Regions from separate parts of the Homo sapiens genome. Here regions 2, 3, 4 and 5 are each linked to region 1. Evidence: promoter capture Hi-C in 16 types of primary human blood cells and fetal thymus (Javierre and others, 2016). All regions are on one chromosome and are shown on one strand. Each heading gives the region's core, a stretch centred on a gene start or on the middle of the fragment in contact. The rest is flanking DNA. Distances are from core to core; before and after follow the strand shown. Region 1 holds the start of ARL6 (ARF like GTPase 6). Region 2 has its middle 26 kb from the start of OR5K4. Region 3 overlaps CPOX (coproporphyrinogen oxidase). Region 4 has its middle 26 kb from the start of GPR15. Region 5 has its middle 9.3 kb from the start of GPR15.

Region 1 (4,471 bases), core at 1,504-4,003:
TTAAGTAGGGTTTTCTCTCAGTAGAAGCAAAGAATCCTGAAATACTTATCCTTATTTCCCCTTATCCTATACATACATCTTTGTAAGTCACCACAAATCCCTTTGTGAAGAAGGTTATGCATAAATACATACACACATTCAATTTATTGAACCTTACTAAATATCTGTTTTTTAACTGTAACTTATCTGAAACATCCTCCTAAGTGCTATTTTAAAAGGACTTTATCGTATTAGTATAGAATAAGGAAGTAAATACTGATTGTAGATTTTAATTTAGTTTTTTAAGTATCTTAAAAATTTCTTTGTTAACTTGTCCCTAAAGTGTTCATTTCTCTTGTTCAATTGTATTGATTCTTTGAAAAAAAAATTCTTTCTAATGCAAACTTAAAAAAAAACTATCAGCAATCCAAAAATAGAAGTATTTGGAAGTCAAATAAAACTGCTGTGTACATAAAACTTGCTATGTGGTAACTTTATGGCTGTTTATATTCATCTAAGGTACTGTTAAATTTACACTTCAGGTCTCCAAACTAAACTTTTCAAAGGAGCTCACTTTGGGTCCATTGCTCCCCAAACCATTACTTTGTGGTAGAAGGACAGGGAGATAGATCCCTTTTTCCAGCCCCCAACTGCTGCAGGAACTGCTACAATATATCTATGTACCAAATATTTCTCATTACTCACCAACATTAGTTCTCTAATGTTTTTATTCTCATTAAATTGACTTATTCTCATCTCCATCTAAGGTTGCATAAGCAACCTGTCATATTACAGTTTCTTCAATACTTTTTATTCCATACAATTTCAGGCAAGGCCATACCTTGAAGGATGTGAGGCTGCAGCAACTTTATCAATAACAGGCTTCCAAGACAACTGTATCTAAAAGGAGGTTGCATAGTCAACATTTTGCTTAGGCCTTTTGGGATATGATTATGGGTAGAAATTTCAAAACTAAATTTCAGTGATGTGCAGAGAAGAGATGGAACAGTGCCATGCCAAAAGGTGAGGCCTATTACAGAACCACGTTTGTCTTTCCCCAAGGATGAGTTTGACCTCAGGTACTTCCATTTGTGCCACTTCAATCTGCTTTTCTCCTTGTATCAGAGATTCAAATCTTATTCAGTCCATTTCTTTAAATTACAGCTTAAGGACCAGCATTTGTAAAATCTATTTTAAATTAACCTTCTGATGTCATGAAGCAATTCACACATACCATTTGATTTCAAAGTAAATTTGCTATTACTCACTTTATTTACTGCATAAACATATTGATATAAATGCTTATATCTTGTTCTCCATTTCATAATTTAGAACTTATGTTTTAAAAACGACAACTTCTCACATTTTCCCCCCTTTAAGCATCTACTATAAAGCACTGAGTGTTTAAAGCCTGATGCTTGAATATTCGTTTTTCACAGTACCTTGTATTGTGACTTTCCATCACTTTTCCATGGATTATCACTTGATACTTGTTAATGAAATATTTTGGGACACACAATTTAGAAGAGCAGGCAGTTTTTCTAAAAGAGGTAATCACATTTATTGAAATTGCTTTATAAACAACTATCATAGAGCCTTTAAACTTCTACGTTTCAAGTAGTTATAATTTTCCTTCCATAAGTTGACTTTCTGCATGCATAAATAAAAGATAATTGAAGCCAGTCAATATTTGTTAATCGTGTCTTAAGTGTGCAGCGAGAGACACAACTGTTTTCTGCAGCTTCCTACTCTGATAGCCATGATTCTCAACCCTGGCTGCACTCTGAAATCAATTGCTGAATCCGAATTTTTGAAAATAAGATCAGGGCATCTGTAGTTTTAAAAGCTACCCAGTGTTTCTGATGTGAAGTTACTATTGAGAACTACTGGCTTTCAGAATAAAGCCAGTAGTTTCAAACTTCCAAGCACAGCTTTTAAGGTTGTCCACAATCTGGCTCCAATCTTCCTTTCTTGTTTCTTATCTTACTGTAACCCTCTCTTTGCACACCAGCCAAATTCTCTTGGTTATTGTCTGACAGACTGTTTCCTAAAGGATTACATATTGCCAGAGAAGTCCAGAAGAATTAGGATGTTATCCACAGTTAACAGCTTAGAGGGTAAGCTGCAGAGACAGAGTGGTAGCCCAGAGAAAACACCACGAATGATACTTAGTAAACTCTGTAAAGTGTTTGTTGATTGAAATGTTGCCTACTTTTATTACCCCAAATAAACATTCTTATTCGGCTTTCAGTTTTTTATGATATAATTTAAATTACACTTACACACACACACACACACACACACACACACACACACACACCCCCAATACACGGGTCTAAGTTGAGCATTGTTAAAACCCATCAACCAAACATACGTCCAAACCAGTTTAGTAAGTTTTCTAGGGCCTCTATAACTCACCTTCTTTTCTACTTCTCATACATTAGCAACAACTACACGCGTGGAGTGAAAAACATGGGAAAGACCAAAGAGGAATTCTAAAACTGACGGGGACAGAGGGTGGCGCTGGCTTTAAAAACCGGCGTTGAGGAGATACCTGGTTTTTGAGGTTAGTCCGGAGGGCGCAGGAGCTGGCAACAGGAATGGACGCACTCGTATCGGTCTCCGGGATGGAAATCTGGTGCGAGGGTCCCTCAGCCTTCTTCTCGATGCCTACATGGGAAGGATGCCTGGTAATGAGCAAAGCCGTCTCTAGAAGTTGGGAAAACCGGCAGCCTCTGCAGCAGTCTGTGCATCAGTCGCTGAGCAGGCGCCTTGGCAGGCACCGTTCCCTTGGCAACAGGAGCTTCTTCCGGTCCTGAAGCCACGCCTCCCCGGGGGTCCTGGCGATTCAGCCGTTGTGCTATAGCTTCTGGGATTGAAGAGCTCCGGGAAAAGGTCAGAGGCGCGCCGAGGAACTATACATTGAAGAAAAATGTGTGCACAGGTGGCAGGGTGAGCTGCCTATTTCCTGCGAGGAGCCGGGCAGTTCCCGGCGTAGCATCATGGGAGTTGTAGGCTCGCGCACAGCTTTCTGGGAAGCGTTTGGCGTTCGCGTGTGCTGCGTGTTTGTCGCTCGGCCCTGGTCTTCCTGGGGATCCAAGAGGCTGGCGCTGGGTGTGGCGCGGAGAGTGTCGTTACCGGGCACCAGCGTAGCGTTGTGGCAACGACTGCAAGACGATACTGTCCCCCCTGGGGCAAGATGTGCGCCGGAGTTCCCCAGTTGCCCATCGCACCGACTCTTCTCTGGGTTCTGATAGGCCTCCCACCCTGAGTCCCTGTAGAGGTAAAACTGTTAATACAGGAAGGTAGAGGGGAGAACTGGTGTAAAAAGTCAAAAGGTGTTATTCGGCTAATAAAGTATGCCTGTACCCCTGCTTCTTAGTTGTGTGGTCTCCCGAAGAGATTTCTACCAGGCATAATCTCCTGTGAGTAGATTACAGTCTCCAGAATCAAATCGGCAGGTGGTCAGGAAAGGTATTAATAGTCAATACTTAAAGTTGACCACCTTCTTAAATTGCACTTGGATTTTATAGTCATAGTCACAAATGGTCTTCAAATAGAAAATATTTAGGCATACCCTTCCCCACATCTTTTATTACTGCGTTTTCCAACGGACACATTACAGATGCAGTCATTTTAAAGATCTAGCCTTTCAATCTGCCCAACTCCACTAACCTCACCCCCAGCGAATGGCCTCATTCTTCAAATAGGGGTTTGTATCTCTTCATTTTTTTTGTTTGCATGGGTGTAGGATTTCCGACCCCCTGCCCCCCACCGCGCGACCCTTTTCAACTAGCTAGTGTATGTTTACTGCACTGCCTGTTCTTTGGCCTGTCAATTCATTTGGCCTATTAAATGGACTAGGAGGGTGCAAAAAGAGACTAGAAGGAATTATTTCAAAGTAATATGGTAGGGGGGACGGTTGTAAGCGTGTGATTATGGGGTGATTTATCTTTTGTCACTTCTCCAAATTTCCAAATGTAATTGTCATTTTTACAGCGAAAAAACAAAAGCGGCTCTGGATTAGTGATTCTTGTTGAAAGACAAAAACAAAACAAAGACCCTATGGATGCATATCAACATATAAATGTCCTTGTAAAAATGGAGTATGGAAATACATTCTTTCTTACTGTGTGGTCTTAGCCCAATTTACCCTTCTCCGTGCTTCTATCCTCACCTTCAAAAATATAGTATTTATCTTATCTGGTAGTTCTGAGTATTAAAGATAACAGAAATACAGATGTTTGGCACATATTTATTGTTCAATAAATAATGTCCTGTCTTCTTTTGTCTTGAGCTTTTTATTGTGTAAACAAAATTGACCCAAACCGTAACTATGGTGGTTCTTTAACTTCTGAACTTCTAATCGTGAATGCATTGACAGGGAGGTGTTGAACACTTTTCTGTGTGCCTGGGTGTTGTGACTTACTTGTAAGAGATGGAAGCTAATGTGCTTGCGGCCAAAATATAACATTTTTTTTTCTTAGCGATC
Region 2 (4,578 bases), core at 870-3,369, 560 kb before region 1:
TCATGCAGTTCCTTTGTGTATCTTCACGTTTTTTTATCTGTTCTGTGGTGCAAGGGAAGAGCTGTGATCCCCTCACCAGGTCTGCTCGTGGGCCTTGGGAAGTCACCTCCGATTGCTGGCACTCTGCCTAAGATTTTTGTTGTTGTCATTGTTGTTGCTAAGTCTTTCAGGCCATGGGGCTCCCTTAGGGAGAGGCCAGGTAGGGAGATAGGCTGCACCCTTACCAGACCAGCCCTGTGGAGCCAGACACAGCTAGGTCCCACACCAGCCTTCGAATCTGTGCAACTCAGCCCTCTCAGTCTTCCGAGAGAGTGTGGGATCCTCCTCCTTTCAAGTGCAAAGCACAGATTCCACCTTGGCACTCCTGAGCCCACATCCTTGGGGCGCCAGGACCTGTTCTCAGCTCCCTCCTTCGGATGCTCAGGGTTGGGTTCCAGGTGTGGTGCGTGATTGCAATGGCTCCCAGCTGGAACGCACTCAGGTGGAGCAAAGCATCTAGGCTGGGTAGTGGAGGTTGCACTGTGTAACTGCTCCTTCCAGGCAGCCAGGCAGGGGCTCTGGGAGGGTCTGGTGCTCAGTCAGCCTGCAGAACAGATGTGCCCCAGGCCCACGGGGAAGCAGGCCCTGCTTTCTCCCAGGGGTTACCTGGGGCTAGACTTTCTCAGAGGCAGACAGGCAGCCCTGGCTGGTGGGCTTTCATGACTGGGTTCTGCTGGAGCTAACCTGTGCTCTGCTCCATCTAATCTCTGAGAGATCCCCCTTGCCAGCTCACACATCCTAGGGGTGTGGGGCCCCTGTATTAGGTTCCCAGAGGTTTGTGGTGAGAGTGGGCAGTCCTCCAGTCCTCTCACGCACCGCTTCCTCAGGTGCTGTTCAGGGCTGGGAACCAGTTATAACATTCAGGCATCCCATGAGGAGTTCCCAGCTCCCTCCCTCTTCAGCCTCAGCAACTGCATCTTTTCTGTATCCATATTTGGCATTTTCTCTGCAAATAATCTGTTCAAATTATGTTGGTGTAGTTGAAATCATTGTCTTTTCCTGTGGGAGTAGCACTTCAGCTCCATCTAGTTGGCCACCTTGGTAAAACCTAAATTTTTAAAAATTAAATACCTTTTACTGTGCCAAATAGCCTTCAGGAAAGGGAAACTGGAATCAGGCACACTAACAAGGAAACTTAGTTACTATTGTCCAATGTGTCTCAGACAAGATTATATATCAGAATAAACTGGGTACCTTTTTTTGTGCAAAATATGGATTATAAGGTATTACTGTAGAAATAGTAGTTCAACAAGGAGGCCTAAAAGTCTCCATTTTTAACATGCTCCCCAGGTGACTCAAATGCATGCAAAGTGCTTAGTCCTTGTGTGATATGACTTTGGGGGTGATAAGGAGGACAAGGCAATAGATTCAAAAGAATTTAAAATGTAGTGTCATAAGGACTTAATGACATTTTGGATATGTAGGGGGTGACCAATGAAGGAGAATGGAATTATATGGGCTGGGCAGATGGCCATCAAAAACGCAGATTGAGAGCTCAGATGCATTGGCAAATTTGTGGAAGGAGAATGTAAAAAGTAAAGCAGAGGTTCCTCTTCAAAGACTTTCCTCCCCGTCTAATTAGGAATAAATAGTAACTTCTCTTAGAAGCAAAATGTATTCAAAGACCTGTGCTAACATTCTTAAATATCTGCTAGCCATAATAAAGAAATCAACGTACTTTATGTTCTTAGCTTCCACAATTTAGCCTAAATATTTGCCCTGGCATACTTATACTGGTCCAAGCAAGCGTTAGGTCATAGCCTGTTCCTCTTCCTTATTTAAAAGTGTTTTTACCTTTCTCAACATTCCACAAGTGACTTCCTCCTTTCTTTGTTCTCCTCTACCTTTGCCTCTTTTAAAAAGTTCTAAGTTGCTAGCCAATCGGGACAAATACAGAATGTGAGGTCCTGTTCCAGCCCACGGAAACCCGACACAGCAGTAGGGTGGATGCGTCAGGATGCATCTCCTTTTTTTGGTGTACTCTTGTGGCAGAACTGCTGGTGAGTGTACCGTTTCTACAGGAAGTAAAAATGACCTTACTAAATAAATTAAATTTATGTTCAAGTGCTATTTCTTTATGGCACGGGAACAAGCATTTCAAACAGAGAATCATCTGAATATCCAGGTCAGATGAACTTAGTAGTATGAATTTACTGGAACTTACTAGAAATAATGACTTGGTTTGGAGTAGATGAAGGAATCATTATGGAAGACCTAGCAATTGGAGAGTACACAAAGTGGAAGGAAAAACTCAAGGAAGTTGTATTACAGAGGTGATAATATGTATATGCCTCATTTATTAGAATTATTAGCCATCCCCTTTTCATCTACATGTGTCTTGGTGGTGGGAAGAAGTTACCACCCATTCTAGAAACCAGAGAGGTAGAAACACACTTTCACATTTATCTTGCACCTAGAGTGAAACACTTGATCTGAGTTTGGCCAGTCAAATTGTAACTGCCAGAGGGCTTCTTCCTGCTTGCTGCACAAACAAAATCAATTCACAGAGATGATGGCATTGCAGTAAAGGAAGAGTTTAATAGACATCAGGCCAGCTACACTATGTGGGAGACAAAGTTAGTACCCAGATGAATCTCCCCAAAGGCCTGTAGTTAGGGGTTTTTCAGTGGCAGTTTGGGGGAAGGAGTGGGGGTGGCCAGGTAATGGGTGCTTACTGCTGATGTGTTGGGTCAGAGATGAAATCGTAGGGGTTTGAAGCTGTCCTTCTGTGCATTGAATCACTCTGAGTGGGGCCACAGGAGATGGGTTGGTGGGTCCAGGTGGAGCCATGGGTGTCAGACATGCAAAAAAACCTGAAAAGATATCTCAAAAGGCCAATCTACAATACTGGTATTATTTGCAGGAATGGTTGGCAATCATTTATGTCTATACCTTAGCAGAATTCAGATTCCTCTCCTCCCCCAACCTGAGGGCCTTTCATTAGCTTTACAAAGGTTGTTGAGTTTTGGGGAAGGCCTATTATCATTTAAACTATTAACTAAATGTCTGTCAAAGTTAGTTCAGCCCAAAATCCCAGGAATAATTAAGGGAAAGGCATAATGGGAGGTGGGTTAGATAGATCTCTTTTACTGCCATAATTTTCTTACTGTTATAATTTCTGCAAAGACGGTTTAAAAACCAACCCTCCATAGTTTTGCAATTTGGAGAGGGAAGATAAAGGTACAGGAACAAAAGAGAATTTGGTAGCAAAGGCAGCAATGACAAGACTCTAGCTAATGCATCCTTGACTTTGGCAACAGTGGCATCAGCAGTGGAGGCTGTGGCACCCAAGTTCAGCAGCAGGAAGAACAGCCCTCATCAGCTAGTGTTGGAACGTGGCTTTAGCTGTTGACTGGCTGTCTTGCTTCCTTCTGTTTCTGCCTATTTTTCCAGCTGATCCTCCAACTTCCTTAGCATTTCTATTTTAGACAGATTTCCATGTAATAAACTTACTTCCTGTTGTAACTGAGAATCCTGGCTCAAACAAAAGAGAGACAACAAAGAGACCAGAAAAAGATACTGAAGGAAGTGATCAGAGAAGCAGGAGGGAAACTGGAAAGCTGAGAGTTGTAGACATAAAGAGGGAAGGATACTAAAGAAAGACAAAATATAGTACAGGGCTAAATGCCAAAAAAAAATGCTACAGCAAGACAAGGAGTGAGAAGAGATCTTTGAGTGTGAAAATTAAAAGATTTTTAGTGATGTTAGTAGAGCACTTGCGTCAGAGTTAAGGTCAGAGAGTAATTCAAAATAAATGGGAAACAATGGAAAATGCTACAGAAAGCTCCATGAAATGTGAAGAATGGTTGGCATGTTTTTACTGCCCATAGACAAATGTAAAAAAGAATTTCCCATAGAACAATTTAATAAAAGTTTTCAAAGGAAGAGAGGAGAGGAATACATTTAAAGGAGAAAGGGGACAGAGAAGTGGAAAGAGAATTTGGGTAGGTGAAAAGAAAACAAGATGGAGAACAGAGAAATAAGCAGAGAATTATGGGGTCGTAAATGGAAAAGTGCAGGAAAGACAAGCCAGAGAAGCAGAGGGGAAATACCAGAGAAAGACTGAAGTGGAAAAAAATGGAAAGGCTCAAAGGCTTTAAGATAAATATTTATCCTAATGAAGCGGCATTGTTTGTCTGGGGTAATATCTGAGGTTCGTTGCCTCATGCCAAGGAAAACAAGGACGCGGACACACCAGAGTGAAGTTAAGAGCAGAAGTTTAAAAGCAAAAGAAAGAGAAGAGCTCTCTGCGCAGAAAGGGGTCCCGGAGAAAAATGGGTTGCCAGTTTCATGGTTAAGTGCACAGGGTTTTGTAGAGGAGCTTGAGGAGGCAGCGTCTGATTTACATAGGGCACGAGAGATTGGTCAGGCCAGGTGTGCTGTTTGGATAGCCTGCAAAGAAGCTGGCCGCCCCACCCTAATCTTTTACTATGTATATAAGTTCTCTACCTGGCTGGCACCACGTTGCCTACTCCCTGACTGCACACGTGGTGACGAAGAAAAGCAAAGAAAACGGAAGATGGCGCCTCCATGTTGAAC
Region 3 (4,598 bases), core at 1,895-4,394, 810 kb before region 1:
TAAGGCTTTTTTTTTTTTTATTCTTAGGATTTTATTTTTCATTTATTTTAAGTAAAGAGGTATGTGTGTCATTTTTTATGACGTTTTTTGCTTTTGTTTTGGACATGCATAGATGGGAGTACATGCATTCACCCTCAGAGAATTCCAAAGAAGCTGAAATTCTGGAAGTTCTACGCCATCCAAGGGACTGGGTGCGTTGATGCAGGCAGAATGGCTGTGCAGGGGTTTGGAGGGCACACGATGTGTGCTCCCCATGCCACTGGTCGGCACTTTGCCACTGTGTGGCAGTTACCCGTGCCTTAGTCTTCTCCACTCTGCACCCTACCTCGTGGGCAGATGATAACATGTTTTGGATGCTGTCAGTGATGAATGGTGAGATGGCAGATTGTCAGAGTCAATTGATTAAACCTCATTTATACTTCTAGTGTCATTTTATATGACTAGTTTACAAAATAGGACATTGAGTTTCCAAGTATTGAGATAAGGGAATATAAATAGTATTATATGTATCAGGAAATCTCTCATCTTGTTTTTGTTTCATGTATTTTTTAAAGTTTTCATTTGTGCCACAAAAATCTGTCGTGGAATATATTTTATTTTCATTAATTCAGTGAAGTTGAGACTTCATAGTAATTTTAGAATGCAACTTGAAGGTAAAAATTTTACTTTGTCAATACTGAAGTCTCTGCTGTAATCCTTATATATCTTTCTCCAGAGAACATAATATTGTCAAATAGATACACATTTTTCTAATAGGTATTTAGAAGCACTTGAAATAATCTCTGCATGTGTTACAATTCAGTTATTTCTGTAGTTTGTAAACTCTAAAGTGACATTACTATTATTTTAGAGATGTCTAAGTTGTAATTTTGATTTTTGTGGAACCATTGTTTGTTAATGTTGGGATTCTCTGCACTTTTGAATGTGAAAGCTTATATCCCTGAATTCTGATACTTAAGAGTTTTCTATTTCAGACATCTCTGTGTGGAAGTTGAGACTAAGAATAATCCTAGGGATGTCATGAATTTAGGCAATGTTTCTCATTTGGAAAATGAAATGAGAAATAATTTCCTTCTTTAAAGCAAGTATATATAGTATGAGAAACTTGGAGGCATTTCATACACACGTTTCTTAGGAAAATGGACACATTGAAAATGTCCTCTTTTTTATATTAGAGATTCTGCAGCTCTTTGCTCTTAAGAGCAAATCACAACAGGATTCTTAATGTATGATTTCTTTGTTCATATATTATGAATGTATTATTTTATTTGCTTCGTAATAAAGTTTATAAGGAAGAGCATCTCATACATATCATTATCGTGGAACACGTTGAATGTTTGTGATTCTGTGTGGCCTTTTTGGGGCTGGAAAATGTATGAATTCTTCAACTGTCTTACAAGAGATCTGCTAATAAATTTTATTATTAAATAAGACTAAGAAATATTTATATTTTTTGTTGCCAGGATAATATAGGAAAACGCATATATTTCTTAGTACAGTTGATCCTTGAACAACATTAGGGCTAGGGGCCCCAACTCCTCCTTACTGCATGCAGTTTCAAATCCTTGTATAACTTTTGACTCTCCCAAAACTTAATCACTAATAGCCTCCTGTTGACTGGTAGCCTGACCAATAACATAGTCAATTCGCACATGTTTTATGTTATATGTATTATATACTCTTCTTACAAGCTAAAGAAATGAAAATGTTATTAAGGAAATCGTAAGAAAGAAGATATATTTGCTATTCATTAGGTGGAAGTGAATCATCGTAAAGGTCTTCATCCTCATTGTTTTCATGTTGGGTAGGCTTAGTGGGAGTAGTAAGAGGAAGAGTAGGTCTTGCTCTCTCAAGGGTGGCAGAGGTGGAAGAAAATCTGCGAAGAAGCAAAACTCTTCAAACCTGTGTTGTTCAAGGCTCAGCTATGCTAATGCCATAGTTCCTCATTCCTAGGTATTTTACTCAAGAAAAATACAAGTTTTGTACTCAATTTTCATAGCAGCTTTATTCAATAGTTGAAAATTAGAAACAACCCAAATGGCTAACAGCAGGTGAGCAGATAAACAACTTGTGATATATGCGTATATTAAAATACTAAGCAATGAAAAGGAATAACTATTGCTAATGACAGTAACATGGGTGAACATCAGAAACATTATGCCAAGTGAAAGCCACACATAAAAGTACTTACTATATGACTACATTATAGGAAAACCTAGAAAAAGCAAAGCTTTAATGACAGAAAGCAGATCAATGGATGGCAGGGGTTAGGGGATGCAGATTTGTGAAAGGGGACAAAAGAGTATTTTGAGGTGATTTAAATGTTTTACATCTTGATTGTGATGGTTACTAGACTGTATATACATTTATCAAAATTCACTGAACTTAAAATGGAATTTTATTGTATATGTGAATAATACTTCAATAAATCTAATACTAGGAAAAATATAGGCATATAGGAACAAATGTTCAGATCAACCTCAGTTTAGCTTTTAAAAAATAGAAAATCACTACATAGTGATGATATAATGCTAAAATGCTAGCCTATTTAGTTGTGTTTAAAGCTGTGGCGGGTAAATGAAGATAAAATTTTTCTGTGCATTTGTTTTCAGTTCTTCAATAACCACGTATTTCTACTATGGATTAGACTATGTCTGAAAAGAATTGCATAACTACTGGAAAACAGATTATCCTACTGTTATTCAAAGTGAATTTCTCTTTCAATTTCTTACTGGTGTTAATTCAGTCTACCTGAAGACCACAGTGCACCTCCAGATGGCCTGAACACCTAACTGTCTTATGCATGCAGGTTCATGGTAATAAAGGGTGTCTGGAGGGGAGAAATGTCAATTCTCTGGAGCAAATTTTTAACCACTATTTTCTGTTCATCACTGTACTCTGCTGACCCTCCTAGTCAGCAGAGTATTTGAGATAAGTGCTTCTGCACGCTAAGGAGTACAAGATTTGAAAAGCCAAATGTTTCTTTATGACTTATCCTTCCATGTGTCTTTTGCTGTTACAATATTTAGAGACAGGAATCTTCTGCAGGTTTTTGACTTGCATGTCTGTACATAGGTGAGGATGACTCAAAGGCTCAGCTCATCTTGGACTGCAGGCTGCATTGCCTATGGGTGGCTCAGAGCACGAATTCCATGGAAAAAGGCAAAGGCAGTATGGTGGTTTTCTGTTCTAACCACTGAGGTTATGTAGTGTCACTTTCTTCACATTCCACTGGACTCCTGACAAGTCTGTCATTAAGGACAGTTCCAGATTCGAGTGGTAGGGAATTAGATCCCAGTCATCTTCAAAACCTCCACACAGCCTTCCACACTCAAAACCACGAAATAGATTGGACTCAACCCTCCACATTGCCCTAATTAGTTCCTGTTGAGTCCCCCTTTGAAATGGCTCCTGGTTTCCTTCCTCTGCCCTTTGCCACCACCCTACTTTAGTCTCACATACTTTCTCATCTGAACTTTTGCAATGCTCTCCCTGCCTCTGGGCACTCTGACCTTTCCCTCTCTTCAGAATTATTTTCCTAGGTCCCATTATCACCACCCTGCTGAAATAGTCAAAGAATCTCCTCTCCAGACAGAATTCTAAAGTCAGTCTGACATTCAAGCAATCCACCATTTAACTCCTACCTCGTGTTTCAGGCTTATCTTCTACATTTCTCTGTGCACTTCAGTCTCAGACCATATACTCACCACTCACCACTTTTCCTGAACTTCCCCCAAATTATATCCCCTCTGGCCTTTTCTCAGGCTGCTGCTATCTCTGCTTGGAATGTCTTATGTGCCCGCTCATCCTTCCATGCCCATTTTAAATCTTCTTCAAGAAACCTTCCTTGGAGTCAATCTCTTCTACCCTTTCAACACATTTTACTTTTAGTATTGCTGTCAACATATTCCATTTACAGTCATTCAATCCACATCCCACTTATTACAAAATATTGAAGGTGGATCTTTCCTTATTTATAGTACCTGCTACCTAATGAATGATGTGTTAACCTTTGTTTTCCAACACTGTTTTGCAATATATCGTAGTATCAAGCTTAGTGTTGTTTAGTTGTCTGTATAACTGTCTTATTCCTAGTCTGTGAAAACAGAAGTTCCCAGTATCTCTAAAAGCCCATTTAGAAATTGTTTTCAAGGATGTATTGTATTATCCCTGCCACAAGTATGAATTATGTATTTGAAATCTCACATTTTAAAATTTCATCTTTCTTCCCAAAGAAACACATAACAATCCAATTTCATAATAAACCTAAATTAGCACATTTAAGTTAGTGACGCTTAGACATTTGTAAATGGCTTGACTAAATTCCCTTGTATTGTTACCTGAAATCAAGTCATAAGTTGTACAACATAAAACCTCACTGATATGGTTAGGGTTTGTGTCCCCACCCAAATCTCACCTGGAATTGTAATCCCCCAAATCCCCAGGTGTCAAGGGAGAGACCAGGTGGAGGTAATTGAGTCATGAGGGTAAACCATCCCCGTGCTGTTCTCGTGGTAGTGAGTGAGTTCTCACAGGATCTGATAATTTTATAAGGTGCTCTTCCCTTCTTTGCTCAGCACTTCTCCTTCCTGCTGCCT
Region 4 (4,224 bases), core at 592-3,091, 790 kb before region 1:
ATATCTTAACTCGCTTTATATTGAATTGATCTTTTTGCTATTAGAGCTTTTTGTATAATAAGAAAATTAGCCCTTTTTTATAAGTATGCATGTTTTTCCCCATTTTGAAATTTTTATTGTAACATAGTTTATACATCTTTTTAGGGCAGAAAATGTTTACTTTTTGTAGTAAAATGTATCTTTTATTTTTTCATCAATTTTTATTTTAAGTTCTGGGGTACATGTGCAGGATATACAGGTTTGTTACATAGGTAAATGCGTGCCATGGTGGTTTGCTGCACAGATCAACCTATCACCTAAGTGTTAAGCCCAACATCTATTAGTTATTATTCCTGATGCTCTCCCTCCCCCTGCTCCCATGACACACCCCAACATGTGTTGTTGCCCACCGTGTGTCCATGTGTCCTCATCATTTGGCTCCCACTTATAAGTGAGAACATGCAGTGCCTGGTTTTCTGTTCCTGCATTAGTTTGCTGAGGATAACAGCTTCCAGCTCCATCCATGTCCCTGCAAATGATATGATCTTGTTCCTTTTTATGGCTGCGTAGTATTCCATGGTGTATATGTATCACATTTTCTTTATCCAGTCTATCATTGATGGGCATTTGGGTTAATTCCATGTCTTTGCTATTGGGAATACTGCTGCAATAAACACATGCATGCATGTATCTTTAAAATAGAATGATTTATTTTCCTTTGGGTATATACCCAGTAGTGGGATTGCTGGGTCAAATGGTATTTCTGCTTCTAGATGTTTGAGGAATTGCCACACTGTCTTCCACATGGTTGAAATAATTTACATTCCCACTGACAGTGTAAAAGTGTTCCCTTTTCTCAGCAACCTCACCAGCATCTGTTGTTTCTTGATGTTGTAGTAATTGCTATTCTGACTTGCATGAAATTGTGTCTCATTATGGTTTTGATTTGCATTTCTCTAATATAGGTGATATTGAGCTTTTATTCATATGTTTGTTGGCTGCATGAATGTCTTCTTTTGAGAAGTGTCTATTCGTGTCCTTTGCCCACCTTTAAAAGGAGTTGTTTTTTTCTTATAAATTTGTTTAAGTTCCTTGTTGACTCTGGATATTAGACCTTTGCCCATCAGATAGATTGCAAAAATTTTCTCCCATTCTGTAGGTTGTCTGTTCACTCTAATGATAATTTCTTTTGCTGTGCAGAAGCTCTTTAGTTCAATTAGATCCCATTTGTCAATTTTTGCTTTTGTTGCAATTGCTTTTGGTGTTTTCATCATGAAATCTTTGCCTGTGCTTATGTCCTGAATGGTATTGCCTAGATTTTCTTCTAAGGTTTTTATTGTTTTGGGTTTTACATTTGAGTCTTTAATCCATCTTGAGTTTTAGTTTTGTAGAAGGTACAAGGAAGGGATCCAGTTTCAATTTTCTGCATATGGCTAGCCAGTTCTCCCAGCACCATTTATTAAATAGAGACCCTTTTCCCATTGCTTGTCTTTGTCAGGTTTGTCGACGATCAGATGGTTGTAGGTGTGCAGTCTTATTTCTGAGTTCTCTATTCTGTTCCATTGGTCTATGTGTTTGTGTAAAATGTATCTTTTAGAAAAAGATTTTAGGTTTTATAAAGCTTTCCCTACCACACTGGGAATTGTTCAAAGGAAAACTCCCATATTATCTTCTGAGTTAATAAGATACTAGTTTTTTCCTACCAGTAGCAATGACTACAAAATTGGCTCTCAAAACAACAACAAAAAGCTCTGAATTGTAGTATTTGCCAATTTCCAAAGTGTAAATACTCCCATCATGTCCAATTTCAAGCTGCCCATGTGACTTCGCTGAACACAGAGTTAGGAAAAGATGTGCACAGTTGGCTCTTGCCAGCTGATATATGCCAACTCTAGCACATCACTGCACCAGAAATGTATTTTGACATAAGGGTTGAGAGAGATCCAGCTTCTTATTTTGTTCTTTTTTTCCAAACAGCTGAAGTGAATGCTGAAGTACATATAGGACTATAAATCTGATTAAAATAGCTATGCTTTTATTCCAACACAAATTTATGTCAATTATGTTCTTACCTAATATGTGATGTATATATATGTAAGCTTTGACTTCAAGGTAGGGTTTTTGAACACATGTACACAAGGAGGGGAACAACACACACTGGGGCCTGTCAGAGTCGGGGGAGGGAGAGCATCAGGATAAATAACTAACGTAGGCTGGGCTTAATACCTAGGTGATGGGTTGATAGATGCAGCAAACCACTGTGGCACACGTTTACCTGTGTAACAAACCTGCACATCCTGCACGTGTATCCCAGAACTTAAAATAAAATAAAATTAAATTTAAAAAAATGTTTGCAAACCACTGAGCTGAGTCTTTATCAAGACGGGAGGATGGGTGGGGAAGAGAAAGATGTGTCTCTAATTCACTTACAAAGTTGCAGTTTCTCCTTAGATCTTCAATTCTCCCACCCACATAATCCCACATATTTTAAGTACTAAATGCCCTCATCTTCTGTATTTCTGTTTGTTCAAATTTTCTTTTTTTTTCCTACCGTTAAAAACTCATCTCAGAGTAAAAAAATGAGTGGTTGTGGGGAGTAGGGGGGATTAATAGGTGGCACACAAAGGATTTTTAGGGCAGTGAAACTACTCTGTATGATACTGTAATGGTGGATGTATGTCATTACGCATTTGTCCCAATCCATAGAATATACAACACCAGGAGTGAGCCCTAATGTAAACTAACAACTTTGGGTTATTACAATGTGTCACAAAAAAACCTCATCTCATATCCTTTGTCATATTAAGGTGCAAATAACTGATGAAAAATTCAAGTGCTACAAGGAAGCTGTGTAGCTGACAGGCTAAAGCTCCAGTTCAGCTTGCAAGTGGGTGTGAGAGTCTACGGCAGCTCACAACCTTCCCATGAATCATAAGAGGATGGGAGTGGAGATGAGAGGTGAGAGGCAAAACTGAAAGAGGAGAGGATTTGATTTGAAGGCACAAGATTTGGGTTCTGGTGGTGGCTCTATCACTTCCTGGATGAGTGATCTTGAGAATTCCCTGAAACTCGTTTTTCTCACCTGAGTAACAAGCTTAAGAATAGCACATTCTATCTGTGCTTTAATGAGGATAAATTGAGATAATATATGAGGACATGCTTCACTAATTGTAGTTATACAAAAATGCTGGTTATTGGTCACAAAAAAGGCAGATGTGCTTTTGAAACATTCAGACTACGGTTTGACAATGGGGCCAGTCTGCCTGTATTCCATCATTTTTACTCTCCTTTTCTATTAACTCCATGTGTCCACTTTCTCATCCTAAAATTGGAATAAAAATATTTACTCTCCTGGTTGCTTAAAGGATTGAAATAGAAATGCATGTAAAGTAGAAAAGTATCTGTCTCTCCCCGTCTCTACTCCAGTAAGTGATCAACCAAAGTTGTTGCAATTTCCTTCCAAAATCCACAGGCAATGACATTAATCTGTGTTATGCTCAATCAAAAGGCATGCCCCAGTGACCCAGAAAAGAAGAAACCTGTGACATTCCCATTATTTCCCACAGGGCACTGATCACTTTCTACTTCTCCTAGCTCACCGTGTCCATCACTCATTCCTCAACCCTTTGGGTGGGAATGAGGCATTTGCCCCTACCAGTCTATTAAAATTGCACCTAAATTTACCTTAGAGGAAGTAAATTATAAAGAGCTCTTTGGACTGTTAAAAGTGAAGTGATGTATTTAGAAAGCGAGAGAATTTAAAAATACAGAACCATGATCAATTCTGTTTTAACTTGCAGTATATAGTTGAGAGCATGGTGTACAGGTGGGAACTGGAAAAACTGATTATTTGTTACAGTTGTTATATTTCTGAAAAAGGTGTTTATTCTTGTTTTCTTCACATCTGTTTCCAGTTGCCACTTGTCTTCTTGGGTGGAAATAACTTCTTTTCTATGAACTGGCAGAGTTTCTCTGGGTGTGGGGAGGTTCTGAACTTTGCGTGAGAGTGCTCTCCTTAGTTCAGTAATGAGATCAGTCACCAAGTCACCCCTTTGCTCTCTGGTGATGGCTGCCACCTCTTGCTTTCATGAGAAATGATAAAGCAAATGAGTCAGTGCCTAGGACCCTTCAAGAATGGCACGCGATGCTCAGCTAACCTCAAACCTTAGCTCTAGCTAAGGAGGTTTCAAAAAAAAGCCTTTGAGAAACTCTCCTTCCAGAAATACAGGCATGCATCTGGCTTCC
Region 5 (4,257 bases), core at 341-2,840, 780 kb before region 1:
GCCAAAGTCCCATGATAACTAACCTATTCCCATAATAATGGCCTTAATTCATTCATAGGGTGGAGCCCCGACCCAATCACCTCCTAAAGGTCCCACCTCTCAACACTGTCACAGTGGCAATTAAATTTCAACATGAGTTTTGGCAGGGACACTTAAACCACAGCACTTCATCCCTGTTGCCCCAAAATTCATCTTATTCTTATGTGCAAAATACATTCATTCCATCTTGATAGCCCTCAAAGTCTTAACTCATTCTGGCATCAACTCAAAAGTCTCATCTAAATCAGACACTCAACCTACAATTTATCTTGAGGCTAATACTCTCCAGCTGTGAGCCTGTGAAATGAAAACAAGTAATCTACTTCCACGATACAATGGTGAGATCCGACACAATGGTGAGATAGGCATAGAATAGACATTTCCATTCCAAAAGAGAGAAGCAGGAAAGAAGGGGTAACTGGTCCCAAGCAAGTCCAAAACCCTTCAGGGAAAGCAACATTAAGTCTTAAATTTAGAGAATAGTCTCCTTTGGCTCCATGTCCTGCATCCGGGGCACACTGAGGTGGGAGTTGGGCTCCCAAGGCCTCTGACAGCCCTGTCCCTATGACTTTGCTGGGCTCAGTCCATGCTTTAGCTGTCCCAAGCTGGAGTTTCACACTGGTATCCTATAGTTCTGTAATCTTGGGGGTCACTACACTTCCACAGCTCCACCAGGCATTACACTTTGAAACCTAAATGGAGGCAGTCATGCCTCACAGCTCTTGCATTCTTCATGCTTACAGACTAAATACCACACGGGCATTGCCAAAGCTTATGGCGTGTACCTTCTGGAGCAGTGGGGCTGAGCCAAAACAGAGCAACAGCCTTTATAGAAGTTATCTTCTGATCAATTGTTTGACTTCATAATCCCACTCTCAGTCTCTCTCAAAAGTGCATAGTCACATAAGTTACTTATTATCTAATGTGGAATATAGGTTTGGAGTTTGTGGAAAGATTTATAATACCCTGGCAATAGCCGGTGGAACTCCTGACTATCACACAGTGATTAGAAATCACTATTTTTGGTCCAATACTAGGCATATTGGACCTGAATTCAGAAAAGTTTTCCATTTAAATAGAAAATCAATGTTACACCAAGAAAGGGCTGAAGTAAAGGATATTGCATCAGTTATTTCTCTACTCAAGTACAGCTGGAATGATCAAAAAAGTTAAAGGACAGTGGCAAGATTGCTCCTGATGACTGTAATAGACTCCCTGTCCCTCATAGTTACAGCATATCATAAACAAAAGACATTCAAGCAAAAGTATGAATATAAAAATTTAATATTTAACATTTTAAATGTTTTTCATTTTTATTTTAATCAATGGTGAGATTTTTCTAGCATGTTCAGTTTAGTTCAACAATGATGAGTGCTTGATATGGAAGAAGCCAAGCATATGGCTACAAAAAATGAAGATGTGGCTTCTTCTCTTCCCCCATCCCCAGGGTGGAGGGAGCTCTCTTCCTACCTGGTGGACAGACATGGCACCAGATGAGTCACTATGCAGGATGCAATAGTTGCTGTGCTAAGAGACATTATGGGAGAATAAAGGTCCTGCCTGCATGCTGAAATGTTCATCACCATTTTCAAATTTTAAATGCATAGCAGTTCTAAAACTGTTGCTTTTAAGGAATTGGGTACTTGTAAAGGAAACAGCGGGTCATCCTAGAAAGAAACAGATGATTACTAGGGGAGGTCTCAAGGCCAATGTAGGGATTATACTCACAGATCAGAAACACAGTAATTGAAAAACTAGAGGACCTACAACTCAGAAATGATGTTTTATAATAAATTTAGCTACTATTTTTATCTTGGGTACTTCATTGAAAGCCTAAACTAAATTTTAGCTTTTTTTATTACTACAAAATTAATGCATTTTTTTTTGGAAAATACAAGTAATAATAAATATAAAAATCACTTGTAACTTCACAAAGTTAACATTTTGCTGTATAGGGTTCCAGTATTTTTGCATTCATATATGAATAAAATAGTCACAAATAATGTGGTCATCCTATAGATATAGTTTTGTAGTCTGCTTTTTTCACTTAATTTCATTGGATTTATTATTAAGGTCTTTCCACTTCAGTATATGGTACAGTATTTTTAAAGGCTGCATAGTATTCCATTGTAAGAAAGTGCATGAATTTTAATTTACTCAGTCAATTTGGACATTTGGATTGTTTTCACTTTCCTGCTTTTATGAACAATGCTGCAATAAAAATACATGTGCATATGTCTTTTCACCTGGCCGTAATGATTTTTTAGGGCAAAATCTTGGAAGTGGAATTGCTTTTGATATAGGTTTCTAAATTTTTTCTACAAAGCTTAATCAATTTACACTCAATAAGCTTCCCTCACACCCGCAGACCCAATCCTGGTCAACCTTAGTATTTAATGTTTCACTCTTTGTCAGTTTAATAGGTAAAACCATATTTTGTTTTTTTTAATATTATGTATCATGCTAAATATAAATTTACAAACTTTTTGGCAGTATTCTTTTCTATGTTTGAATTATTATAGGAAAGACACATTGATTTGAAATCCTGAGGACTAAGTTATACAGTTCTGAATTGACTTTTACTCAATTCTTTACTGATTTTCCGATTTTTAAGCTATTTCTATTAACATACACAAGTCAGGTCTGAATTGCATAAACATCTTTTTTATTAGAAATAAGGTAGCCATTCTCATCTATCTTCAAGTGCTCTGAATCTGTATTTTTGCTTTAAACATGAAACCACAGGCCAAGTTTCGTTTCTCATTTACCACTTCTCCACCTGAGTTGTCAGTTTTGCTTTTGCTCTAACTCAAGGCCAAATGAAAGGGCATCTCATTAAATCACTGTGCTGGGCAAGGTTCATGTAAAGTTATCTACTTTGCTTTGCATACTTTTTTTTAGTTTGTCATTTGGAAATAAATTTAAACCTAATACTGTTCAAGATGTGTTCTTGTGTTTAAAATAATGAGTCTATACGTTTAAAGTCTTAAAGATTTTTAAGACTCGAGAGTCTTAACATCTATAAAGACAATGATAGCATTTTCATTTGAGGATGCTAATGTGAACACTTTAAGGAAATGTAACAATGTTTAGGAAATAACCATATCAAAATGACAATTACATAAGTGACTTGTATATGGACTAAGTATGGGCTTCTCCTAAACATTGGAAAAGACCAAGGAAAGTTATTTGACTTGTAATTTTCATTGCATATACCGGGCTCTTCTTGGGTGTCACTATTTCATTCTTTGATTAAAAAAAATAAACAACTATGTGGATTCTAAACTCCATGAAAAACAAGTTCTGCTTCTACCTTTTTAACTCCTATAGAGTCGAATAAAGTGATATACATATATCACTATATATATTTATTGTGAACAAATACAAATATATATATATATATATTTGTTCAACCTTTTTTTTTTTTTTGAGATGGAATTTCGCTCTTGTTGCCCAGGCTGGAGTGCGATGGTGTGATCTCAGCTCACTGCAACCTCCACCTCCCGGCTTCAAGCAATTCTCCTGCCTCAGCCTCCCGAGTAGCTGGGATTACAGGCATTTGGCACCATGCCCAGCTAATTTTGTATTTTTAGTAGAGACAGGGGGTTTCTCCTTGTTGGTCAGGCTGATCTGGAACTCGTGGCCTCAGGTGATCCACCTGCCTTGGCCTCCCAAAATGCTGGGATTATAGGCGTGAGCCATCACGCCCCGCCTCAACTTTTTTTTTTTTTTTTTTTACGTAGAGATGGGGTCTCACTATGTTGACCAGGCTGGTCTCAAACTCTTAGCCTCGAGTGATCCTCCCATCTCGGCCTCCCAAAGTACTGGGATTACAGGCCTGAGCCACTATGTCCAGCCATGTTCAACTCTTTAGTAGAAATTTCAATCCATTTATATGCTTTTTGTAATTGCTGATATATTTATGCATACATATGCCATTTTATTTTGTGTTCTTTATTTACTATGCTTTTTCTTTGCTTTATTTTCTCCTTTCTTGTATTCTGTATTTTGTTAGTGGATAAAATAGTTAAATTCATCTCAAGTACTTCAGTCTGAATATTAACAGCAACATTCAACAGATGCTTTTCAGCTGCAACTGTATACAGTATGTTTGTGTGTTTGTGTATGTGTATAAGAGAAAGAAAGAGGCTGGGTGCAGTGGCTCATGCCTGTAATCCCAGAACTTTGGGAGGCCAAGGTGGGCGGATCACTTGAGGT

What was found. The method cuts DNA at HindIII sites, captures the fragments that hold promoters and counts their contacts. A CHiCAGO score of 5 or more calls a contact.
Region 2: a fragment that was not itself captured here is called in contact with the fragment with the promoter of ARL6 in region 1 in 4 of 17 cell types (non-activated CD4 T cells, naive CD4 T cells, total CD4 T cells and 1 more); the score reaches 8.0 in non-activated CD4 T cells.
Region 3: a fragment that was not itself captured here is called in contact with the fragment with the promoter of ARL6 in region 1 in 7 of 17 cell types (activated CD4 T cells, total CD4 T cells, non-activated CD4 T cells and 4 more); the score reaches 11.2 in activated CD4 T cells.
Region 4: a contact is called between a fragment that was not itself captured here and the fragment with the promoter of ARL6 in region 1, in 5 of 17 cell types (total CD4 T cells, activated CD4 T cells, total CD8 T cells and 2 more). The highest score is 7.8, in total CD4 T cells.
Region 5: a contact is called between a fragment that was not itself captured here and the fragment with the promoter of ARL6 in region 1, in 1 of 17 cell types (total CD4 T cells). The highest score is 5.0, in total CD4 T cells.

The regions. Positions count from the first base shown.
Region 1 is chr3:97,763,040-97,767,510 of GRCh38, reverse strand. ARL6 (ARF like GTPase 6) reads right to left here and starts at 2,753. Exons shown (of 8, transcript NM_001278293.3): 1 at 2,534-2,753. RefSeq lists enhancers at 2,596-2,705, 2,421-2,920, 2,746-3,285, 2,921-3,422. The HindIII fragment of the contact is 6,880 bases long and covers 1-4,471 here.
Region 2 is chr3:98,325,108-98,329,685 of GRCh38, reverse strand. No RefSeq gene overlaps it. Among named protein-coding and RNA genes, the nearest start is that of OR5K4, 26 kb to the left of the region's middle. RefSeq lists enhancers at 1-59, 120-199, 1-487, 488-1,225, 2,654-3,252 and 1 more and a silencer at 2,587-2,646. The HindIII fragment of the contact is 5,045 bases long and covers 1-4,578 here.
Region 3 is chr3:98,576,285-98,580,882 of GRCh38, reverse strand. CPOX (coproporphyrinogen oxidase) reads left to right here. Exons shown (of 7, transcript NM_000097.7): 7 at 113-1,437. The coding sequence ends at 200. Among named protein-coding and RNA genes, the nearest start is that of CPOX, 15 kb to the left of the region's middle. The HindIII fragment of the contact is 1,823 bases long and covers 2,233-4,055 here.
Region 4 is chr3:98,556,243-98,560,466 of GRCh38, reverse strand. No RefSeq gene overlaps it. Among named protein-coding and RNA genes, the nearest start is that of GPR15, 26 kb to the right of the region's middle. RefSeq lists enhancers at 3,904-3,983, 4,114-4,224, 3,485-4,224. The HindIII fragment of the contact is 478 bases long and covers 1,603-2,080 here.
Region 5 is chr3:98,539,161-98,543,417 of GRCh38, reverse strand. No RefSeq gene overlaps it. Among named protein-coding and RNA genes, the nearest start is that of GPR15, 9.3 kb to the right of the region's middle. The HindIII fragment of the contact is 1,555 bases long and covers 813-2,367 here.